Regions from separate parts of the Homo sapiens genome. Here regions 1, 2 and 3 are each linked to region 4. Evidence: promoter capture Hi-C in human tissues and cell types (Jung and others, 2019). All regions are on one chromosome and are shown on one strand. The core of a region is centred on a gene start or on the middle of the fragment in contact, and the rest is flanking DNA. Distances in the headings are between cores, read along the strand shown. Region 1 overlaps SLC7A8 (solute carrier family 7 member 8). Region 2 overlaps SLC7A8 (solute carrier family 7 member 8). Region 3 has its middle 28 kb from the start of NGDN. Region 4 holds the start of SLC22A17 (solute carrier family 22 member 17).

What was found. Contacts are between HindIII fragments. The study calls those that stand out against the background at their distance.
Region 1: a contact is called between a fragment that was not itself captured here and the fragment with the promoter of SLC22A17 in region 4, in 1 of the 25 tissues and cell types used here (psoas muscle).
Region 2: a contact is called between a fragment that was not itself captured here and the fragment with the promoter of SLC22A17 in region 4, in 1 of the 25 tissues and cell types used here (spleen).
Region 3: a contact is called between a fragment that was not itself captured here and the fragment with the promoter of SLC22A17 in region 4, in 2 of the 25 tissues and cell types used here (IMR-90 fibroblasts and lymphoblastoid cells).

Annotation. Positions count from the first base shown.
Region 1 is chr14:23,131,907-23,135,256 of GRCh38, reverse strand. The region is part of intron 7 of SLC7A8 (solute carrier family 7 member 8); the gene reads left to right. Among named protein-coding and RNA genes, the nearest start is that of CEBPE, 14 kb to the right of the region's middle. The HindIII fragment of the contact is 3,545 bases long and covers 193-3,350 here.
Region 2 is chr14:23,151,533-23,155,099 of GRCh38, reverse strand. All of the region lies in intron 3 of SLC7A8 (solute carrier family 7 member 8), which reads left to right. Among named protein-coding and RNA genes, the nearest start is that of SLC7A8, 30 kb to the left of the region's middle. The HindIII fragment of the contact is 7,030 bases long and covers 1-3,567 here.
Region 3 is chr14:23,496,355-23,499,556 of GRCh38, reverse strand. No RefSeq gene overlaps it. Among named protein-coding and RNA genes, the nearest start is that of NGDN, 28 kb to the right of the region's middle. The HindIII fragment of the contact is 8,706 bases long and covers 1-3,202 here.
Region 4 is chr14:23,350,849-23,354,371 of GRCh38, reverse strand. It overlaps SLC22A17 (solute carrier family 22 member 17), which reads left to right and starts at 1,485. Exons shown (of 10, transcript NM_016609.7): 1 at 1,485-1,726; 2 at 1,921-2,424; 3 at 2,517-2,620. The coding sequence starts at 1,631. The HindIII fragment of the contact is 16,780 bases long and covers 1-3,523 here.

The DNA of each region.
Region 1 (3,350 bases), core at 716-3,215, 220 kb after region 4:
AATTAGCTGAGCGTGGTGGCAGGTGCCTGTACTCCCAGCTACCCAGGAGGCTGAGGCAGAAGAATCACTTGAACCCAGGAGGCGGAGGTTGCAGTGAGCCGAGATCGTGACACTGCACTCCAGCCTGGGCAACAGAGCAAGACTCTGTCTCAATAAAAATAAAAAATATTAAAAAAATAATAACTTTTAGGGCTGGGCGTGGTGGCTCACGCCTGTAATCCCGGTGCTTTGGGAAGGCAAGGTGGAAGGATTGCTTGAGCCCAGTAGTTCCAGACCAGCCTGGGCAACAAGGCAAGACCTTGTCACTACAAAAAATTAGCAAAGAAAAATAAGTAAAAAATAAAATTGATTTAAACATCAATATCCTAGTTGTGATATTATAATATAATTGTGTAGCATGTTACCAATGGAGGAAACTGGGCAAAAGATACATAGGATCTCTCCTTATTATTTCTTACAACTGTACTTGGTTGTAAGATTCACTGAATGCAAATCTACAATTATCTCAAAATAAAAAGTTTCATTTTTTAAGTTAACTGAGCACGGTGATATGTACATGTAGTCCCAGCTGCTCAGGAGGCTGAGACTAGAGGATCACTGGAGCCCAGGAATTGGAGGCTGCAGTGAGCTATAATCACGCCACTCTACTCCAGCCTGGGTGACAGAGCAAGACCCCATCTCTAAAAATTGGAAAAATAAAAAGTTTAATTTTTTAAGTTAAAAAATCTTTATTCTGATTATAAATATTCCATCTATTTTAGAATTTTATTCATTTTTTCCTTTTCCTTATCTTTTCTTTTTTTTTTTTTTTTTTTTTTTGGAGACAGGGTCTCACTTTGTCACCCAGGCTGGAGTGCAGTGGTGCAAATACAGCTCACTGCAGCCTCAACCTCCCAGGCTCAAGTGATCCTCCCACCTCAGCCCCCTCAGTAGCTGGAACTACAGGCACGCTCTACCACGCCTGGCTAATTTTTGTATTTTTTGTAGAGACAGGGTTTCACCATGTTGCCCAGGCTGCATTTTGCGATTTTTAAAATTTTTTCTCTAATGTATAAGGAAGAAAATTAAAATTAACCATAATTTCACCACCCAGAGACAATCAGTTAGCATTTTAATAAATAGGCCCATAAATAATCTTAAAATTAATTGGCATTTGGGTGTGGTGGTGCACACCTGTAGTCCCAGCTACTTGGAAGACTGAGACAGGAGGATCATTTGAGTTTGGGAGGTCAAGGCTACAGTGAGCCATCATCGTGCTACTGCACTCCAGCCTGGGCAACAGAGCAAGACCATGTCTCAAAAAAAAAAAATTATTTGCATTATAGTTTTCAGTCCTGTTTTTTCATTTGATGTTATATTTTGAGCATATTCTCATGTAATCAAATTTTTTCAAAAACATTATGACTACATAATGTTCCCTTTTTTTTTTCTTTGAGACAGAGTTTCACTCTGTCATCCAGGTTGGAGTGCAAGGGCATGATCTCTGCTCACTGCAACCTCCACCTTCCGGGTTCAGGCAATTCTGCCTCAACCTTCCAAGTAGCTGGGATTATAGGCACGTGCCACCACATCTGGCTAATTTTTGTATTTTTAGTAGAGACGAGGTTTCCCCATGTTGGCCAGGCTGGTCTCAAACTCCTGACCTCAGGTGATTCACCCACCTCAGCCTCCCAAAGAGCTGGGATTACAGGCATGAGCCACTGTGCCTAGCCCATAACATTTCATCTTATGCCAAATTCATTTTATCGACCTCTTACTTTTAGGCACTTACGATATTTCCAATTTTTTCTTTCTCTTTTTTTTTTTTTTTTTTTTTGAGACAGGTTCTTGCTCTGTTGCCTAGGGTGGAGTGCAATGGCACAATCACAGCTCACTGCAGCCTCAGCCTCCCAGGCTCATGTGATCCTGTCACCTCAGCCTCCCGAGTAATTAGAACAACAGGCACATGCCACCACACCTGGCTAATTTTATTTTTATTTTTTGTAGAGACAAGGGTCCACTATTTTGCCCAGACTGGCCTCAAACTTCCGGGCTCAAATGATTCTCCCGCCTCAGCCTGCCAAAGTGCTGGGATTGCAGGTGTTACCCACCGTGCCCAGACAGGATATAATTTTTTTAAACTCAATCCCACAAGACAGGATATAAATTTTTAAGTACAATTTACATACAATAAAATATGCAGGCTGGGCGTGGTGGCTCATGCCTGTCATCCCAACGCTTTGGGAGCCCGAGGTGGGAGGATCATTAGAGCCCAGTTCGAGACCAGCCTGGGCAACATGGCAAGACCCTGCCTCAATTTTTTTTTTAAAAAGCAGATCATAGGCTGGGCATAGTGGCTCATGCCTGTAATCCCAGTACTTTGGGAGGCCGAGGCGGGCAGATCACCTGAGGTCGGGAGTTCGAGACCAGCCTGACCAACATGGAGAAACCCCGTCTCCACCAAAAATACAAAAATTAGCTGGGTGTGGTGGCGCATGCCTGTAATCCCAGCTACTCGGGAGGCTGAGGCAGAAGAATCGCTTGAACCTGGGAGGCGGAGGTTGCGGTGAACCAAGATCGTGCTATTGCACTCCAGCCTGGGCAACAAGAGTGAAACTCCGTCTCAAAAAAAAAAAAAAAGCAGATCATAAATGTTCATTTTGATGAGTTTTGTGGGGGTTTTTTTGTTTGTGTTTGTTCATTTTTGTTTTTTATTGTTGTTTTTTAGAGGCAGAGTCTCACTATGTTGCCTAGGCTGGCTTTGAACTTCTGGGCTCAAGCAATCTTCCTGCTTCAGCCTCCCAAGTAGCTAGAAATATAGGTGTGTGCCACTGTGCCTGGCTTCCATTTGATGAATTTTGACAGTTGTCAAAATTCAACCACTACCCAAAACAAGATAGAGAACATTTCCACCACCAATTCCCTACTCCCACAAAGACAACTAACTACTCTCTGACTAGGACAAGAGTGTTTTTAGGCCAGGCGCGGTGGCTCACGCCTGTAGTCCCAGCACTTTGGGAGGCCGAGGCAAGTGGATCACGAGGTCAGCAGTTCAAGACCAGCCTGGCCAAGATGGTGAAACCCCGTCTCTACTGAAAATACAAAAATTAGCTGGGCATGGTGGCACACACCTGTAATCCCACCTTCTCGGGAGGCTGAGGCAGAGAATTGCTTAAACCTGGGAGGCGGAGGTTGCAGTGAGCCGAGATTGCAGCACTGCACTCCAGCCTGGGCGACAGAGTCAGACTCCATCTCAAAAAAAAAAAAAAAAAAAAAAATAGAGTGTTTTTAAAGCTTTCCATATGCAGTTCAGTCCCAGTGTATTAGGGAATCTGCATCCTTTGAGGATGTGAGGAATGCTTTTAAAGAGA
Region 2 (3,567 bases), core at 223-2,722, 200 kb after region 4:
TGTTTCAAAACCACACTCCCCACTGTGCACTTTATAGAAGCTGGGATCAAAGCGCAGTTTATGAGGAAGGGCTGCTTTGATTTTTTTTTTTTTTTTTTTTTGTCTGTTGTGTGGCTTTTTGTGGGTTTTTTTTTTTTAACGTTTTTCTCTTTCACCAGTCAAGTTATATGTATAACTTTATCAGACAAGTTATGTTACATGTACAATAATCCAGGTGCGGAAGGACTTTATAATGTGGGCCCCTCACCCGCTCTAAAAAATGTCTTGAGGTGGGGGTGGGCGGGGAATAGAGAAGGATTCTAGGAGGGTTCTGTGAAGCTGGATCCGTGTCTGCCCACTCCCCCACACCTCCAGGCCTCTCTGGGTCTTTGACGAGGAAAGACTGTTCCGTGTGGCCTGCGTGGGCAGAACTGGAACCTTATCAGAGCCTTGGGTTGTGTGCGTTAGAGGTCAAACAGGCCTCCGTGTTTTCTTTGCCTATCAGCGCCTTTTGGCAGCCGGCACTGCTTACCTCCTAGATCTGGAAACGCCTGCGGTTGGACAGGCCAAGCCGAAGCGGCTTTTCCACAATTAGAAACACGTGCTCAGTTCCTTCCACAAGCGGGGGAGGCGGCCAAGGAACTCGGTGCAGCCAATCACAGAGCCGAGCGTAGCCACACCCACGCCCCCACAGGCCCGGCTTCCCTGCCCAGCGGCTCCAACCTCCAGCCTGGGCACCCAGACCCAGAGGGCTGCTGGGAGGGACATGCCTCACCCCTTTTGCTCCAGCTGGAGGGGAGGGAGTCTGTGGGAGCTGGCCAGAGCGTGGCAGAAGGCAGAGAAGTGAACGCCCCAGCAAAAGGTGAGGCTGAGAAGCCAACCCTTCTGGCAGGCCATGACCCAGGTGAAATTTATGGCGTTTCAGAGGGCTGGGGAGCTCCATCCAGAAAGGTGCCTGTTTTGCAGGTTTGGAGAGGAACAGGGCGTTCTGATTTCTACAAAGTGGCGTCACTGCTTCCTTTTTCAGCAACCGTCTGCTTAGTACATTCCATCTTGCTGTTTTCAGTCCTGGCCTCTCTCTGTTCTGCTCCTCTCAAGCCCTTTTTCTCTCCCACTCATCTGCATTGTCCTCCCCTTGCTCTCTCCCGCCCTGTGGTTTCTTGTGCTCTTTCCCTCTCTTCTTCACCATCTGTCTTTATGGACTTTGGCAAGTCTGGACATTTTTCCCCCTTTCTACTGCCTGTTTTCACTTATCTGAACAGACAAGGAGGAGTGGCCTGGTTCTGGAAATGTTAAAGGAAAACCAAGCCTTTCCAAGCCAGTCCAGTCCACTCCTGAGAAAGGTGCAAGCCAGCGAGACCGAGAAATCCAAATGGAGTTCCGGGAGTTTGGAGGGAACATGTGACTGTGACATTGATTAAGGGGGCTGGTGGGAGGGGACCCAAGGTGGAGATCCCTGTGGGAAATGACTTTCTAAAGCCCTGGGAGCAATGGATGCACCTTTCTTGGTTTCTGAGGCATAACTGTGAAAGTCTTCCCCTTTTGCCATATTGGCATCTTCCTTCCTGCTGCACAGAAAGCAGTCCAGGCTGGGGCTAACCAGTGTCTTGGTGACAGACCCAGAGTCCCAAGTGGCACTGGCAGTAGTGACCATGGGTACCACTGACCCAAGCAGGAGGAGAGATGATGTGGGAGCGGCCAAGGGAAAGCAGAGTGATCTGTGTATAATGAAGGAAGGCGGGGCAGAGGCAGAACAAGCAACTGGGAATTGGGCTGTCCCAGTCTGGTCTTTGCTGCGAATTAGCTGGGGTCTAAATTCACTCACATATAAAATGAGGTTCTGGGGCCGCCATGGTGGCTCACAACTGTAATCCTAGCACTTTGGGAAGCCGAGTCAGGCAGATCGCTCAAGCCCAGGACTGGGAAGCTGCAGTGAGCTATGATCATGCCACTGCACTTCAGCCTGGGCGACAGAATGAGACTCCCATCTGTAAAAGAAAAATAAAATGAGGTTCTGGGTCTCTAAGGTCATTCCTGCCTTCTGATCACCCATGAGGCTGGACACAAGCCTTGGGTGGTAGGGCGCAGGCTTCAAATATTTACCTCTAGGGCCAAGAGTTGACTACAAGGAGAGTCCCAACTGGTTCATTCTTCTTAGCACTGTCCTTATAACAACCAATCCAGCCCCGTATCCAGGTGGCCCTATCCCAACCTTTACCCTGTCAGACCAGAATAGTGTGGCTCATCGAGTGGCAGCTGGCTTAGTAGAAGAAATGAGATTGGTTCAGGGATCCATGTGGGAATGTTCATTGGCTCCCTGAGGGAGGCACAAAATGACCCCCTGCTGGCCCAGCTCAATGAGAAGCCAGAGTCCTGTATCCAAAGCAAGGGAGCACCTGAAAACATCACCGGGTGTGGCGGCTCATGCCTGTAATCGCAGCACTTTGGGAGGCCAAGGCAGGTGGCTCACTTGAGCCCAGGAGTTCTAGAGACCAGCCTGGGCAACCTGGCATAACCCGTCTCTACAAAAAATACAAAAATTAGCTGGGCCTGGTGGCACACACCTCAGCTACTCAGGAGGCTGAGGTGGGAGGATCACCTGAGTCTGGGGAGGTTGAGACTGCAGTGAGCCATCATCATGCCACTGCACTCCAGCCTGGATGACAGAGTAAGACCCTGTCTCAAAAAAAAGAAAACATTGGTGGCTCATGCCTGTAATCCCAGCACTTTGAGAGGCCAAAGTGGGCAGATTGCTAGAGCTCAGGAGTTCAAGACCAGCCTGGGCAACATGGCGAAACCCCATCTCTACCAAAAATACAAAAAATTAGCTGGGCGTGGTGGCACATGCCTGTGGTCCCAGCTACTCAGGAGGCTGAGGTGGGAGGACTGCTTGAGCCCAGGAGGCAGAGATTGTAGTTTGCCAACATCAGGCCACTGCATTCCAGCCTGGGTGACAGAATGAGACTGCTCTCAAAAAAAAGAAAACAGTTATCAAGTAGTCTCTCTCTGGGAATAACGTGTACTCTTAGTGAGCTTTTTTTTTCTTTGCTTTTGTTTTGTTTTGTTTTTGTTTTGTTTTGTTTGAGGTGGAATCTCTGTCACCCAGGCTGGAGTGCAGTGGCACGATCTTGGCTCACTGCAACCTCTGCCTCCCAGGTTCAAGTGATTCTCAGCCTCCCGAATAGCTGGCATTACAGGCATGCTAATTTTTGTGTTTTTAATAGAGACAGGGTTTTGCTATATTGGCCAGGCTGGTCTTAAACTCCTGAACTCAAGTGATCTATCCGCCTCAGCTTCCCAAAGTGCTGGGATTACAGGTATGACCCACTGTGCCCAGCAAGCTTTTTGCTTTTTTTTTTTTTTTTTTTTTTAAGAGACAGGGTTACCCAGGCCAGCATGCAATGGCACAATCACAGCTTACTGCAGCCTTGAATTCCTGGGCTCAAGTGATCCTCCCACCCCAGCCTCCCTTGTAGCTGGGACTACAGGTATGTGTCACCACATCTGGCTAATTTTCTGTTATTTTTTAAGAGACAGGATCTTGCTGTGTTGCCCAGGCTGGCCTCGAACTTCTGGCCTCAATTGATC
Region 3 (3,202 bases), core at 550-3,049, 140 kb before region 4:
TTGTGGCCTTGCTAATCTGTCCCATTCAGGCTATTGCCATAGAACACTGCTTAGGACTGTTTTGTTTGATGATTCCCATTTTAACACCGCTGAATGAGAAAAACTATTTTATTTATTTCTTTATTGTATTTATTTATTTTTTTTGAGACAGTCTTGCTCTGTCACCCAGGCTGGAGTATAGTGGCACGATCTCCGCTCACTGCAAGCTCCGCCTCCCGGGTTCACGCCATTCTCCTGCCTCAGCCTCCCGAGTAGCTGGGACTACAGGTGCCTGCCACCACGCCCGGCTAATTTTTTGCATTTTTAGTAGAGATGGGGTTTCACCATGTTAGCCAGGATGGTCTCAATCTCCCGACCTCGTGATCCACCCGCCTCGGCCTCCCGAAGTGCTAGGATTACAGGCGTGAGCCACCGCACCCAGCCAAGAAAAACTATTTATATTCTCATGCTGAAGCTCAGCAAAGAAGCATGCCAGTACAGCAACAGCAGTATTCCAAGGGGGCAGCTAGGCAGCATCCTGAGGACCAAGATCCACATCTGAGAAAGGAGCTCTTGTAATAAATCTGGAACCCTGGAAAATTTTTTCACTCTCTAAGGAAAAAATCTCCAAAAGCCTCAGTTTCCTCATCTGTAAGATGGTTGCAAAATGCCCCAGTGACTGTAAAGATTAAATGAGCTAGTTTTCCTAAGAAAAACCCCTTATCCTGTGGTTGGCATTTAGGAGTCACCCAATAAATGCTAACACATATTCATATCCTTCTTTCCTTTATAAGTTTTAAAAACTTTTACTTATTTTTATTTTTATTTTTTTTGAGACAGAGTCTCGCTCTGTCGCCCAGGCTGGAGTGCAGTGGCGCAATCTCGGCTCACTGCAACCTCCGCCTCCTGTGTTCACGCCATTCTCCTGCCTCAGCCTCCCGAGTAGCTGGGACTATAGGCACACACCACCGCGCCAGGCTAATTTTTGTATTTTTAGTAGAGACGGGGTTTCACTATGTTGGCCAGGCTGGTCTGAACTCCTATCCTCAGGTGATCCACCCACCTAGGCCTCCCAAACTGTTGGGGATTACAGGCGTGAGCCACCACACCTGGCCTAGCATTAAAAACTTTAAACCTGTCAGGGCACGGTGGCTCACGCCTGTAATCTCAGCACTTTGGGAGGCCACAGCAGGTGGATCACATGAGGTCAGGAGTTCGAGACTAGCCTGACCAACATGGAGAAACCCCCGTCACTACTAAAAATACAAAATTAGCCAGGCATGGTGGCACATGCCTGTAATCCCAGCTACTAGGGAGGGTGAGGCAGGAGAATTGCTTGAACCTGGGAGGCGGAGGTTGCGGTGAGCCGAGATTGCGCCACACTCCAACCTGGGCAACAAGAGTGAAACTCCAACTCAAAAAAAAAAAAAAAAAAAAATTTTAAACCTAAGATCTCATATGATCAAACTAGAGAGATCGCAACTTAGGAAGAAATAGTGAAACCCAACTTCAGAGAAGTTAAGTGCCTTACCAAAGGCCACACAGAAATTAGCTGCAGAGCCAAGATTGGAATGCAGAGCTAAGTCTTTTGTTTATTTGTTTGTTTGTTTTTAGACGGAGTTTCGCTCTTGTTGCCCAGGCTGGAGTGCAATGGCCCGATCTCGGCTCACCGCAACCTCCACCTCCCAGGTTCAAAAAATTCTCCTGCCTCAGCCTCCCGAGTAGCTGAGATTACAGGCATGCACCACTACGCCCTGCTAATTTTGTATTTTTAGTAGAGATGGGGTTTCTCCATGTTGAGGCTGGTCTCGAACTCCTGACCTCAGGTGATCCACCCGCCTCAGCCTCCCAAAGTGCTGGGGTTACAGGTGTGAGCCACCGCGCCCAGCCCTGTTTGTTTGTTTTGAGACAGGGTCTCACTCTGTCACCCAGGCTGTTGTGCAGTGGCACAGTCATGACTTACTGCAGCCTCGACCTCCCAGGCTCAGGGGATCCTCCCACCTCCGCTTCCTGAGTAGCTAGGACTATAGGCGTGCGCTACCACAACCAGCTAATTTTTGTATTTGTTTTAGAGACAGGGTTTTGCCATGTTGCCCAGGCTGGTCTCAAACTCCTAGGCTCAGGCAATCCACCCACCTCAGCCTCCCAAAGTGCTGGGATTACAGGTATGAGTTACTGCACCCAGGCCAGAACTGCTAAGTCTTAGTCCAGGGTTTTGTCATCTATAGCACATAAATGTCCCAAATCTTTTTGTAAGTAAAACCGTTTTCACTAATCATTAAATTTTGCATAAATCTGAGTGGTTTTTTTTTTGGAGATGGAGTCTCACTCCGTTGCCCAGGCTGGAGTGCAGTGGTATGATCTGAGCTCACTGCAACCTCCATCTCCTGGGTTCAAGCCATTCTCCTGCCTCGGCCTCCTCAGCTGCTGGGACTACAGCCATGCGCCACCATGCCCGGCTAAGTTTTTTTATTTTTAGTAGAGACGGGGTTTCACTATGTTGGCCAGACTGATCTCGAACTCCTGACCTCAAGTGATCCGCCCACCTCGGCCTCCCAAAGTGGTGGGATTACAGGTGTGAGCCACCATAAATCTGAATTTTTAATATAGTAACCTCATTAGTAACTGGACCAATCTACAAGGAATTCACTCTAGGGAACCTGAGCCCTCTGAACCCTCTTGGCTTTCCCCAACAGGACAGTGCCTGTGACAAGCTCAGGAACAAAGGAACACAATAGTCCTATTTCCCAGATTTCTTCTTCCGAATATTATTTACTACCAGTTTTATCCTTGACCTTGAAGCTGAGCCCAGCTAAACAGACTACCAAGATCCTTCCACTTGGCAGGATCCCTTTTTAGCCAGAAGGCAAGACCCAAGATGCATAATGTCCAAGGCTCACTCTAGCCACGACATTCCTCTGCTCTTGAAATGCCAGCAGAAATTGTACCATAAGGCAATGTTCAGTAGATAAGCCATCTCTAAGTATATGTAGTATGTTAGATGTTGCAAATGCCACAGAGAAAAATAAAGCAGGGAAGGGGGACAGGGGTTTGTATAGAGGGAAAGATAGGGCCATTTTAAATAGAGCGGTCATAGAGAAGGGGACATTTGAGTAAAGATCATTCTCTGAAACAAAGACAAGATCAGCTCAAAATATAACCTTTGTAGGTCTCAGTTACTTCATCTGCAAGGCAGGGATACTTCAGGACCTACCTGGACGCA
Region 4 (3,523 bases), core at 236-2,735:
ATGAGGTATCTAGATTTTTAATATTCACTTTGACAGTGAGGAGACACCACTGAAGGCTGGTTAGCAGGAAAGATACATGATCAGATCTGTATTTTGAAAAGATCATTCTATCTGACTATAAATGACATATGGGTGATAAGGAGGTATAAACAAAGCGGACGCTGAACACCAGTTAGGAATTAGGGAGCTAAAGTGGTCTTTGCAACAGGTAGCTTGACTAATAATGGTAGAGATGGAGAGATGTGGGATGTCTGAGAATATATAGGAAGTAAAATGGGCAGAATTTTGTAAAGAATTCAACATGGATAAGGAAGAGAAAGCTCTAAAGGCTGTTGCCTGAGCATTTGGCCACAATGCGATGTTGAGGGTGCCATTCGCTGCAGAAAAAAGCAGTGGAAGCCAACCAAGTTATGGGGGAAAAGCAAAAATTTCGTCTTGAACATATTGAGTTTGAGGTCCCTGTGAGTCATCCAAGGTGAAGGTCAAATAAGAGGTGGCTTCATAGGTCTGGAGCTCAGAACAGAGGTGGAAGCTGGAGATGTCAGTCTGGGCGTCAGGTTTGTATTGTTTGTATGGGTGGTGATTGAAGCTGTGGGCATAGGTAAGATCCCAAAGTGGAGACAGTGTGAGATGAGAGGAGGGCCTAGGACTAAGTCTGTGAGGATTCCAGACACTGAACCATGGTGTCTAAATGATACAGACGGGAATGGCCCTAGAAGCCAGCACCACAGCCTCATCACTACCAATACAGACCCCTCCTGCAGTTGCGTCACCCCGCTGGACTTCAATCATTGCCTCAAGAACCGGGAGGATAATGGCCTGCCCATGCTCAGCACCAATGCCATGAGCTGGAAGACGATTTCTGCAATGGAGAAAAGGGGAGCAAGAGAGACTCAGCAGCAAAGGAAGAGAGTGTTTAGAGGAAGAGGGGTCAACAGTGCCAAATGCTGTTGAGAAATGGAGATTCAAACAGGATGGGAGTGATGAAACCCAAGAAAGTGGTCTCCTTGTAGAGGACTGAAGCTAGGGCTGATACAGGGCCAAGACAGTCTTCCATATGCATAAGTTGTACTGTAATAGCCAGTTTACATGTCTGTCTCCCTGGAGTAAAGGTCTCCAAAGTGGAACTTGTCCACCCTGTTATCCTTAAAGTCTAGTGCAAGTCCTGGAACGTAGTGGACACTTAAATTTTACTGATTAGTGAATGGGTGAATGAATGAATGAATGAATGATGGCAAATGATTGGAAGCAGAGGAAGAATCTCTGGCATCTGCCTGGACTAGCTACTATCCTTCAGCTTTTTTTCTTTTTTACCGCAATGGCCCGCAGACCCAGGAAAGAGACGACAGAGCCCCCCTTCCCTCCCTCCCCTGGGCCCTGGCCCCCCTTCCTCTCTCTGACGAAGAGTCTGGACCGAAGGTTCTGCTGACGTGGGAAGGGGAGGAGAGTCTAGAGGAAGGGGAGGGGAAAGCAGCGCAGAGATCGCAGAGACCAAGGAGGCGCCCGCGGCTGCAGAGCTGCAGAGCGGGATCTCTTCGAGCTGTCTGTGTCCGGGCAGCCGGCGCGCAACTGAGCCAGAGGACAGCGCATCCTTTCGGCGCGGGCCGGCAGGGCCCCTGCGGTCGGCAAGCTGGCTCCCCGGGTGGCCACCGGGACCCCCGAGCCCAATGGCGGGGGCGGCGGCAAAATCGACAACACTGTAGAGATCACCCCCACCTCCAACGGAGTAAGTGCCCGAGCCCCAGGTGGCGACGCCATCCTCTCCCAGCACCCCCGCCCCCGCGGAGCGTCTGGCATTTTCCTCCTGCGCATCCCTCGCCCCTGACTGCCTTCCTAGCCCTCCCTCCCACCTGCCCCCTGCCCTTGCTCTGCGGTTTCCTCCGCTTCACCCTTCTCCTGCCACCCCCTGCCCCCCAACAGCAGGTCGGGACCCTCGGAGATGCGGTGCCCACGGAGCAGCTGCAGGGTGAGCGGGAGCGCGAGCGGGAGGGGGAGGGAGACGCGGGCGGCGACGGACTGGGCAGCAGCCTGTCGCTGGCCGTGCCCCCAGGCCCCCTCAGCTTTGAGGCGCTGCTCGCCCAGGTGGGGGCGCTGGGCGGCGGCCAGCAGCTGCAGCTCGGCCTCTGCTGCCTGCCGGTGCTCTTCGTGGCTCTGGGCATGGCCTCGGACCCCATCTTCACGCTGGCGCCCCCGCTGCATTGCCACTACGGGGCCTTCCCCCCTAATGCCTCTGGCTGGGAGCAGCCTCCCAATGCCAGCGGCGTCAGCGTCGCCAGCGCTGCCCTAGCAGCCAGCGCCGCCAGCCGTGTCGCCACCAGTACCGACCCCTCGTGCAGCGGCTTCGCCCCGCCGGACTTCAACCATTGCCTCAAGGATTGGGACTATAATGGCCTTCCTGTGCTCACCACCAACGCCATCGGCCAGGTGAGGCGGCCAGGCGGGCCGCGGGTCTGGGGGCGGGCAGAGAGCGGCGAGGGCGGGGCCTCACGCCCGCTGCACCCTTCTCACATCCCCAGTGGGATCTGGTGTGTGACCTGGGCTGGCAGGTGATCCTGGAGCAGATCCTCTTCATCTTGGGCTTTGCCTCCGGCTACCTGTTCCTGGGTTACCCCGCAGACAGGTGAGGGCTGTCGTGGGGGCAGGGCTGGTAGAAAGGAGGGGGTGCTAGGGAAGCTAACCCAAGCAGCGGGCGTTTACAGGAGGTCGAAGACGATTCGCTGGACTCTGCAGTCTTCTCTGGACTTCTATTCAATGGTCTATCCATGTCTCAACTTCACTCTCCATCAAGAAATACCCCTTCCCTACCTCTTCCGCGCAAGGGAATGACTCGACCTCTATGGACTATTAGTCCCATTCCCACTAATTAGTGGCCCCCTATCCGTGAATCAATGGCCTCATCTCCAAAGAGAATAGTCTCATCCCCACTAACAGCCCACATGGACTGTTCGCTCCATCTCAGTGACCTCATTCCTGAAGATCAATATGTTAATTCCTAAACACCAACAGCTCCATTCCCACTGATCAATAGTTCAACTTCACAAACAAATTACCCCATTTCTGACCAGCGACCCCTCCCCTACAAGTCAACTAACTATCTCCAAAGACAATATCCTCAGACCCAGTAACCCACAGTCCCATGCCTGCCACCAAATGACCCAACGCTCTGTAGGGGAATAGCCCATAGATTAGCAGTCATACCCTCATGGATCCTCAGGGCTTTGAGATCCTCTCACCGAAATCCCCGTTTCCATGAGTCGGTAGCTTCACCTCTAGAGATCAACAACCCAATCCCAGCAACCAATAACTCTTCCCACAGATCAAAAATCTCATCTCTGATTCTGGTCACCTTCACCACTGACCAGATGCTCTCACTGCACTAAACTTCCGATTAGACTCAGCCCCATTGATCCACAGTTCCATCCAAGTGGATTAATAACTCAACTTCTGTGGATCAAAGCCATCCCAACATTCAATAGTCCAGTTCCTTAAAATCAATACCCATCCTCACTGCCCAATAGTCACA